Linked DNA regions of Homo sapiens: region 1 is linked to region 2. The links are contacts of gene promoters, found by promoter capture Hi-C in human tissues and cell types (Jung and others, 2019). All regions are on one chromosome and are shown on one strand. The core of a region is centred on a gene start or on the middle of the fragment in contact, and the rest is flanking DNA. Distances in the headings are between cores, read along the strand shown.

Region 1 (5,053 bases), core at 1,567-4,066, 1.0 Mb before region 2:
GCATTACTTTATGTATGTATGTATGCATTTCCAAGTCAAAGACCCAACACGACCCTGCTGATTCGCTTTTAAACCTCAGGGAAAGTGACTGGCTGGCATCTGGGTACACTAGAACCTCACCTCCTAAATTTGTTAGGTATCTTGCAATGCGGCCACTGAGATGGAGAGAGGCTGGGAGCTGGACGAACGGCCATCTCTCCTTCCATCTTGGCCTCGGCTCTAAGAACCTAAATCCCTGACTGGGATGCGTGCGGAGTTCAATCCAGTATCGCCTGGCGGTGCTCCCCGGAGGCGCCTGCGGGAAAATTCAGCTTTCCCTCTCCACGACAGGAGGCGCTGTTTTCGTGGAAATCCCCCGGCTGCGAACCTGGGATCCCTGACCTGGATCAAGTCTCCGAAGCTGGCAGAGTCCATTCTGCATCACCGGTCTTGGGCTTTGAAGAAGCCTAGGAGAAATTCCGCTTCGGCCATCACGCTATGAAAAGTGGATTTTTTTTTCTTAAGTCAATTTTTTTTTTTTGAAAATATGAGACTTAGTAGGTTTGGGAAGTGGGCTAAAAGAACATTTGATATTGTAATTGACCCCCCCTTTAAGGTGACAGTGTTTTTCCCCTACTTAAAGCGCCAACTTTTTTGTGCACTATAAAAGCTATTACTATCCATAAATTGTTACTCTCGGTAGAAAATAACCTAGTCTTGCTCGGTGTTATTGAAGAGCCAAGAGGGTATTGGAGAATCACCTCCAGAAGGAACAAGGAAGCTCATTAGCACTGAAAGTCCCCCGGATCAGGCCCAGGAAGCTAAGCATCCGTATACTTTACAAATGGAACTAAAGTCAGCTACTAATGGGAACTTTGCACAAAAGAATTAGTTTCTGACACACAATTCGCAGATACATTTACACAAACTGATGGGACAACTTGCAGTCACAGGAGCAGGCTGCATTAGGGAGGGTTCCTGCCCTACTGAGTTCCAGGTGGATTTAATTTCACTCATTCCTTTCCTTATGATGTGACGTTTCTACCCCCCCACCCTTTTTGTAAAAAAAAAAAAAAAAAATGTAATCCAATGCTTTTATCTTTTTTTATTTCCTTAACTGCACATCTTCACCCTCTCTGCTCCCCTGCTGACTTAAGAGATTTGTTTGGTTCAGGGATTTAAAGTGATTCTCTTGCCAGATTTCAAGTAAAAGAGATTTAAAAGAACAAAGCACAGGGAAAAAGGTATCTGTTTGGAAGACAAGTTAAAACACATTTCTTAAAATGAGATTAATAACATTTTAAAAACTTTGCAAAACAAGAAGATTTTGCGGATTCTTAATTACTTTAGATTTTATTTTATTGTTACTTAAGGAAACCTAGTGGTTCTACAGGCAGTACAACAAACACATGGTCACAGACACTCAGAAACACACACAGTCACACATGCTCAGAAATATACAAACGGTCACACACTCAAAACACACGCACCATCTCCCAATCTATCACCAACTAATTGCCTATCACCCGGTCACTTCAGTTGTTCTCTCTCCCAGGACAAGTGGGCAACCACCACCCAGGGCCTCATGAGAGTAAAGAGACTTTGCGTTGGGAAGACTCTCCCACCGACGTCCAGGACCGATTAGGAACCAAGCGAGCCCCTGAGATCTCAGCCCGGACCCTCCGGGTCACAGACAGGACCAAGCGCCGCTGCGGGCAGTCTCGGGCTTCTGCCTGGCATCTCTTTCGCAGTGCAGATGCGTTCCCGCGCCCAGGCCCTTGCTCTCCCAGCTAACGCGCGTGTTATGGGAGATGTCCCCTCCCCCTGACCTTTTCCTATCAGAAACCAGACGGTCGTCTCCAGCTCACTCCCTGAAGCGGCTGAAGGGGGGCGGGAGGAGGAGCCCGGCAGGGGGAGGACGGCCCGACTTGGGTCCGCCTGCCCTATCACACAGACATCTGCTCTCAGTTTCTTCCTCTTTGTGGTCGCTACAGATGACAAGGGGAGAGGAGCGGACCGAGGCGGAACAAAAAAAAAAAGTTATGTCATAAAGATATAAACCGGTGCTGTGACTCACCTGCTCTTAGCCGCAGGTACGAGTTTCGTGGCAGCGCCTCCGCTCTGCTAGCCCGGGGCCCGGGTCGGCCTAACGTCACTTGGCTCGGCTGACTCAGATGACCCGGTTTCTAGTGACGAAGCAAAAGTGGGGCTTTTTCCCTTTTCTAGTCTGAAGCTCTCAGGAGGAAAGAAAAAAAAAAGTCTGTATTCTCCAGTCTCCCGGGGTTGAACTTTGGGTCAGGAATCAGGAGGGAGGAAGCAAAGAGCAGGAGGGGCGCGAGACTGGGCCGCAGCCCGCGCTCGGAAGGTGGCGTGTACCTCTGGGGAGGGACCCCGGGGTCAGTTATCCCACAAGGTCTCTAAGCCCAGTCTCCGACGCCACCGCCCCCGGCCTTCTCCGGCTGCGAGGTTCCGATCCAGAGCCCTAGCCCGCCCGCCCGCCTGGCCCCGCCTATTTTTTCTTTTTCCAAAGGGGGTTACACCCCCTCCCTCCCCATTTCCCTCTTTCCCTAGCCTCCGGGCCTAAACCAATTACACTGCTTTGCAAACAAAGTGAGGGCCCCGCTTGGGGGAGGGGTCGCGGGGGAGGGGTCGCGCGCAGCGGTGAAGCGGCGGGGCGGGAGGCGCGGCGGCCGGACTGGCGGGCGGCCGCCTTGCAGGTGCACCTCGGGCTTTGTAGGTGCGAGCGTCTTTGTGCGGCGGACAAATGGGGAGAGGACGAGGAGGTGGGCACTCAAGCGACGTAAGATCCACATCAGCTCAACTGCACTTGCCTCGCAGAGGCAGCCCGCTCACTTCCCGCGGAGGCGCTCCCCGGCGCCGCGCTCCGCGGCAGCCGCCTGCCCCCGGCGCTGCCCCCGCCCGCCGCGCCGCCGCCGCCGCCGCGCACGCCGCGCCCCGCAGCTCTGGGCTTCCTCTTCGCCCGGGTGGCGTTGGGCCCGCGCGGGCGCTCGGGTGACTGCAGCTGCTCAGCTCCCCTCCCCCGCCCCGCGCCGCGCGGCCGCCCGTCGCTTCGCACAGGGCTGGATGGTTGTATTGGGCAGGGTGGCTCCAGGATGTTAGGAACTGTGAAGATGGAAGGGCATGAAACCAGCGACTGGAACAGCTACTACGCAGACACGCAGGAGGTGAGAGGCAAGGCGAGGCGGGCGGCCGGTGGGGCGCCGCTGGAGCCCGTGCCGGGGGAGGCCGGGGAGCGGTGGGCGCCAGGCAAGGCAGGCAGGCGGGCCGGGGGCGCCTTCTCGGTGCCACCGCTGCCCGCCCGCCGGTGTGGCCCCGGCCGGGCCTTGGCCGGGCCTGGAAGCGGGACCTGCTGCCCTGCTCTGTCCCGACTCTCGCAGCCGGAGAGGGAGTTTTAGGAAACTCCGGGCTTTGAAAACAGCGGCTCTAGGAAGCGCTTGCCTCTTCCCAGCAGCGAGCGGGAGCAGGAGCCGGGCCCGGGGTGCAGCGGGCGGGCGAGCGCCGGTGCGAGTTGGAAGCAACTCTGAGAAAGCCGGAGCATACCCACAAGGCGACCTCTTCGTCCCACCGTTTAATTCGCAGACGTCTTCTGATTAAAGCGCTCTGCCGCCAAGTTGGGTGTCTCAATAATGAAACGATTTCTAAATTTTGTAAAACTTGTTCTTCAAAAGCCCTATTTGGGGAGAAGTGTGCTCCTTCTCTAAAACCGCTGGGTGGCGCTAGTGCGACCAAAATCTTCTTCACAACTCTGGGCCGAGAACCTGTTTCTCTTCATTGTCCCCTTGGTGGCACGTTCATGGGGGTTATTTTTACAATGTGCACAAAAGGATTACAGGGAAAACCAGTTACAGGGAGGACTACCACCTATTAAAAGTATTTTTCTGGAAACAGCTGGCGATTACCCTCCAAAAGTTTAATTACCATTATTGAAAACGCGTATTGGAACTGCCTTGGATAATCTTGGGAAGAGGGAAAGAAAATAAAGCCCCAAGGTAAAAAATACTTTTAAGACGTGGACAGAAAAATATAGGATCACGTAATATTTTGATGGTAACTGACTTATTTAGATTTATGTATTCACAAGTTTACCTCTGAGTTTATTTGCATACCATAGTTTACTGGGTGTTCCTATTTAAATCTATTTGTTCTCATATTTTCAAATTGAGTCATACTTGCTGATTAAAATAAACTTAAGGACATCATTATTCCTTATTAAATTACCAGAGGAGTGCTTTTTAATATGCCTAGGTTTTGTATGTTTAAAATACTGTACCTAATGCATTCCCACATCGCTATTGATAAGGATTTTCGCTTGTTGATGATTTTAAAAGGAGCTCAGAGGTCTTCCAGAGATTTAATTCTGACGCAGTCATCTCGACCCCACCATTCAATTAAGACCCCTAGCGAAAGTACTTTCTTACATGTTAAAGCTGAGAATTAGGAAATACAATAGCATTAAGAGAAAATAAGTAGAATTTGATTTTCGAATTTTAAATTATTCAAGACTACTCACGGAATCTCAAAGCCAGGCGTTGAAATCATCGGCAGCAACATCAGCATGTGAAAAAAAAAAAAGATTTATTTTGACAAACTGTGTCACCAAATTTTTCAAACAGGGGACTGTAAAGTGGTGACAAAATTAATGCGAGTTTCTAAATAGCTTGCAAAGGTGTACATGTAAAGTCATGTTAAAATAAAATGCATATAGCACTTTGAGATTATTATAGCACCCCCTCCCAGCCCTTTCTGTTATGGATCTACTTTTAGTTTTATTTTTCCAAAACTTATTTAACTCTGAGTTTGCTTCCCTTTTAACATTACAGTTGCTACAAGCAGGTAGAAAACACTACTTCTAAATACAATAAACAACAAAAAGTCACCATAGGCAAAAACCCCTAGGACAATAAAGCCACTTGTTGGGAAACAGATGATTCAGGGGGTCCCATGTCCATAGGTGATTTGCTCTATCAACGATTTCCCCCCAAAGGGCGCTTTGCCGAGGCTGGTTGGGGTGGAGACTTGGGATACCGCCTGGCGTGGATGGAGGAGGCGATGA
Region 2 (5,193 bases), core at 868-3,367:
AGGTAGGGGCAGAGCGAGGATGCGAACCGATTTCCAGGCCAGAGCTCCTTCTACCTTACACAATCTCATAGTTCAAGACCGAATTTGGGAATCAGTCTTAACACTTGCTTCCCCAGGACGGTCTTTGTCAGTGCCTCAGCTTCTCACTAGGGAGGTGGGCTGGCAGAGATTGCCAGGCCTCGGGCTCTGGCCAGAGATAAGTCCACGAGGCCTGGAGCCAGTCTGCGACCTGCCCACTCTCTAGACGCTGGGGGCTCGGGAGCTGAGGAGCGGTGCGCGGCGGGTTTCCAGACTCCGCTGTCCCCTGCCCACTCCAGGCTCCCGCCCCGGCCCCGTCTGCAGAGAGGACAGCCAAGTCATTTCAGTTTAATCTTATTTAAAAAGACATAACTAATAAATCTATTGCCAGGGCCGCGGAAAGACGGCCAGCAGAGTCGATCGTGCTCCCAATCCCATTGAACCCCATTGAAAACCATGACAACACCGGACAAGCTCCGATTTATCCCGGCGCGTTAAAGCGCATTGTGAGCAGACGTCAATCATGCATTATTCCGGACTGAACAAATGCAAAATCTTGACTGGAACAAATGCTTCCAACAGGTCCGGGGCGTCGAGCTCCATTTCCCCTTTGTCCGCGGCCTAGCAGTTGGCCTGTATTGGGGTTGCCTCCGCCCGACCACCCAGCGCGCGGTGCAGCTCCGGGCACCTCGGGCACGCTTGATAGGGAGGCTGCTGGGGAGGGTGCGCGGGGCTTGACAGGGCCGCCGCCGCCGCATCCGAGCCAGGTTCGAGTTCAGCCCGGGAGGAGCCAGGACTTCTGGTGCAGCCACCCAAGTACAGAGCCCTTCGCTACAATTTAGCAACTAAATATCCAAACTACTAGCTTCAGTAGGAGAGGCCTCTGAGAGGGCGTTCCTCTGTAGATTGAAGCGCGGCCAGAGCTAGGCCATGGCCCAACAAAATGTATCCACGGCGGCCTGTTCCCTGCGCCTCCTACATTGATCATTTTCTAGGGTGGAACTGTGGAAACTAGAAGATCCCAGAGAAACCCATGGCCGGTGGTATTTTCTGCCGGGTAGGCCCTGTCCTAATTCTCCCGATCGGTCCATTCCCGGACCAAGGCGGGCAGCCTCGTCAGGGTCTGCCATGCTGCGAGCGGGGAGCGTAGGCCATGGGCAGGCTCCTGGGCAAAGACCAAAGCCCAGGCAGTGAGAGTGCCGTTGAGGCTATGGGGCCAAGGCGCACAGGCGGCACCAGTTCATCTGGCGACTCCAAGGAGGCCTCAAAGCCCTCACAGGATGCCCTGAGAAGCGCCCCCGCCCAGGGGCTCTAAAGCGGGCCTGGACCCAAATTTGTGGAGCTCGGCCTCCGAGCTCCGAGATCGGCAGCGGCCGGGCGAAGCTGGGCCAAAGAGACAGGCACTGTAGACCTAAGTAGCTTGGCTACAAGCCTCTTCTGTTTTGCCGGCCTGTGGAGACGTGGAGCTGGGGCTCCGAATGTTGTCCCAGCCCTTCCTCAGCACCTCTGAGGCTGTTAGGGGGATGTATGGTGTGATCCGAGGCTCCCAGCGGCCGTTGAAACCCCTGGGCCAATGCTGGCAGGGCCAGGCTAATCTTTACGCCCTCCTGAAACTTGTCATCCTGAATCTTAGAGGGGCCCAACCAAAAAGAGAAAGGGAGCGCGCCAGAGTTTAACGCCGCTTTGTAAATCACTTTCTGGATAATTGCGGGAAACTACCACTCCAGCAAACAAGCTCGAAGAATAAAGCAAACAGGGAATAAATTCCTGGGTGCTAATAAACCCACCCCTGCCACCCCCACCCTTCCCGGCGCTCCCGCGGGGCCTGGCCTCAAGTCAGCCCAGGAGGAGGAGGAGGAAGCTGGGGCTGGGTCAGGCGGGTGGTGGCCACCGCTCGCCACCCAAGATGTTATTCACTGGTAACAATCCCCATTATCTGTCCCCACTTTGGGCTAATCAGACAGAATCGCTAATGCCAAATGCTGCTTCCTGCAGCCTCTGGGAGGTAACTGGGCGCCAAGGGGCGGGGTGCGGGGCGGGGTGCGGGGCGGGGCGGGGGCGGAGGTGGCACCTTCCGGGCTCGCCCCGGCTCTGGTCCAGTGCTCATTCAGGTACTTAACACCCTGGAGACCCGGACCTCGGCTTTCAAAGCGGCCTGGGTGGGAAGAGCTGTTTATATAAACAGAGATTCCGCTGTAAATGCGCTAATATCCCGGCTGCCAGCGCATGGCGAGCGCCTCCCACGCCCATCCGTAGGAGCGGCGTCCCGGCCGCCCCTCCGTTCCCAGCCTGCCCTGCCCCCGCCTCCTTCCCCTCCTCGGCCATGGCCACCTCTGGACGCCTGAGCTTCACCGTGCGCAGCCTTCTAGATTTACCCGAGCAGGACGCGCAACACCTGCCGAGGCGGGAGCCAGAACCACGCGCCCCCCAGCCCGACCCCTGCGCCGCCTGGCTGGATTCGGAGCGCGGCCACTACCCTTGTAAGTGCGTGGTGGATTGCGGTGCGGGGTGGGAGGTAGGAGGCGTGGGGCAGCAGAATCAAGGGCCCAGCCCACGAGGGGCCGGAAAGCCGAAATCCCAGCCCAGAGTCTAGATTTCCTCAGTCTTGGAAACGGGAGCCCTGTCCTCGAACCCCTAACGCATTCATCCCGGTCGGCACATCCTAAGAGCAGATCCCTGCCTGGCACTGGTGCTCCGAGATTTGGGGTTTCTGTGTCTGACGATTTCTAGAGGTCGGAATAATTGAAATTTAAAACGCGCCGCCACCTGCCGCCCCCACCCCACCCCCCGCCCCCTCTCCATGCCTGAAAACACGGCCACGATCTCCAGGCCTCCGTCTGGGATGGCCAGTGTTGGCGAGTTTACCCCCACCCCGTTCCCACTCAGGGCTCCGCAAACCTCGGCACACTGCAGTGCAGTCGACCTGGAGGAGGCCGGCGCTGGTGACCCAGCTTGTGATAAACTGGTCGGCCAGCGCAACTACCGGTGCGGACATGTTAAGAGGGCCCCGGGGTGGGTTTTTTCGGGGCACGATCTCAGGCCCGCTGATGACCGCTGTGGTATGAATGAGGTCACCGCATTCGGAGAGGTGGATGTCCAGATGTGGACTCAGGAAATGGCCTCATCCCGAAAGTCTCGGGCTAGTGGGCGTGCCCTCTGGCCAGTGCCTCCACGCCCGCGCCAGAAGGGCAGCAGGCCCTCGTAGGGTCCGGCGTCTCACCCACCCGTGTCTCCTTTGCTGTCCCTAGCCTCGGACGAGAGCAGCCTGGAGACCAGCCCGCCAGACTCGTCGCAGCGGCCGTCCGCTAGGCCCGCGTCTCCGGGCTCGGACGCCGAGAAAAGGAAGAAGCGGCGGGTGCTATTCTCCAAGGCGCAGACGCTGGAGTTGGAGCGGCGCTTCCGGCAGCAGCGGTACCTGTCTGCGCCCGAGCGCGAGCAGCTGGCGAGCCTGCTTCGCCTCACGCCCACGCAGGTCAAGATCTGGTTCCAGAATCATCGCTACAAGCTGAAGCGCGCTCGCGCTCCAGGGGCGGCGGAGTCGCCTGACCTGGCAGCATCCGCCGAGCTGCACGCCGCGCCCGGCCTGCTGCGTCGCGTGGTGGTGCCGGTGCTTGTTCGCGACGGGCAGCCGTGCGGCGGCGGCGGCGGTGGCGAGGTGGGAACCGCCGCGGCCCAGGAGAAGTGCGGCGCCCCTCCAGCCGCCGCCTGCCCTCTGCCGGGCTACCCTGCCTTCGGTCCCGGCTCGGCGCTTGGCCTCTTCCCCGCCTACCAGCACTTAGCATCCCCCGCCCTGGTCTCCTGGAACTGGTGAGGCCGCAGGGCGGCACCTGGGGCTACCCTCGACTTTGGAGCGCGCTCTGCGATTGGAGCAGGGCCGGAGCCGAACGCCTGGAACGCTCTCCGTCCGCCTCCCTGCAGCCCCATCTCCTTGGGCGCCAGGGTCCCTGGCGCGCCCTCATCAGCCGTCGCGCAAGCACACACGAGGGACGTGTGCCAGAGCCCCCTCCCTCACCTTCCCTCCACCGCCAGCCCCAGAGTTAGATTTTATGCTTGGGCCTTATTTGTATATTTTTAAATAGCGATTTGTATAGGAAGCAAGTTATTTTTTTAAAAAATAGAGTATTTTTCCTCGTAGTTCGAGAATAAAATGTGTGGGGTTGGGTCCCCTGCGCGCCTGCGGGGAACGTAGGCGGGAGTCGTGCCCCCCAGACCGGTGTTCGCATCGCTGGCTCGCCCCTTGACTGGCTAAGTGGGGCCCGGCCCCAGCTGGATCGAAGGGCGGGTTGCAGTCCCGACACGGCTTTAGGAAGATACCTGGGGGATGGAGGGGTGGTGATGTCAGGGTTGGGCGCGGGAAGAAAAGGAGAGGAGGAAGCTGAGGCAACTTTGGGATTCTTGTCAGCGGGAGGCGTCACTGGCCCCAGAGTGACTCCGACTCTCCGCTGGGCTCCCAGAGCTGCTGGCGTTTCGAATACCGAAAAGTCAACCCTGTGGACCACGACAGGGCAGAAGGAGTTTCTCCGGAGATGAGCCGGCGAGGCCAGGTGCGGGGCGCGCTGCACCGGAGCAGCCCAGGCCGGGCCGCAAGCTGTTTCCAGAGTGCAGGAGCCAAGTGCTCGGGGACCCTTTGAAAAGTGCCTGGGGACCTGAAGAGCACCGGGGAATTTGTAACCCCTATTTAAGCCTGCAAGTGCCTAAGTTAGCTGTGATTTCCTGTCTCCTCATGGCGCAGTACCTGGCCAGGGTGGGGAGGAGGACGTGAAGACATCAAAGGGTCGGGGGAACGACCGGCACAGGGCTTTTCCTCTGGGCAGATCCGGGAGGACGCGACTCCCAGCTGAGGGAGGGCCGCCTGGGGGAGCCTTGGGAATCCGAGATTGGGGCAGGTCCACCCCGGCCAGTGCACACTAGCACCCCTTGGATTTGTAACTGCCCCGCTAGGGCCTCTTGTGCAAGCAGTCACTTTCTCACAGAAGCGACGACCTCGCTCCCAGGCACCCGCTGCTGGGAGATGCGCCAGAGGAGAGCAGTTGGGGCATCAGGTGCGGGGAAGGGAGCCAAGGGCCCTTATGGAGGTCTCTAAGGAGGAGTCATGGGCCTGTTAGGGGCTCTAGCTTTCTTGTCCAAGGAGGAAGAAGGGGAGGATGAAGGGTGGCTGAGGCAGTGTTATCACCT

Evidence for each region. Contacts are between HindIII fragments. The study calls those that stand out against the background at their distance.
Region 1: the fragment with the promoter of FOXA1 here is called in contact with the fragment with the promoter of NKX2-8 in region 2 in 1 of the 25 tissues and cell types used here (mesendoderm cells).

The regions. Positions count from the first base shown.
Region 1 is chr14:37,593,012-37,598,064 of GRCh38, reverse strand. FOXA1 (forkhead box A1) reads left to right here and starts at 2,816. Exons shown (of 2, transcript NM_004496.5): 1 at 2,816-3,164. The coding sequence starts at 3,093. TTC6 (tetratricopeptide repeat domain 6) reads right to left here and starts at 2,436. Exons shown (of 33, transcript NM_001310135.5): 1 at 2,057-2,436. RefSeq lists enhancers at 1,308-2,507, 2,021-2,880. The HindIII fragment of the contact is 7,361 bases long and covers 1-4,161 here.
Region 2 is chr14:36,579,538-36,584,730 of GRCh38, reverse strand. NKX2-8 (NK2 homeobox 8) reads left to right here and starts at 2,117. Exons shown (of 2, transcript NM_014360.4): 1 at 2,117-2,498; 2 at 3,267-4,727. The coding sequence starts at 2,342. The coding sequence ends at 3,829. RefSeq lists enhancers at 2,726-3,536, 3,537-4,347. The HindIII fragment of the contact is 13,278 bases long and covers 1-5,193 here.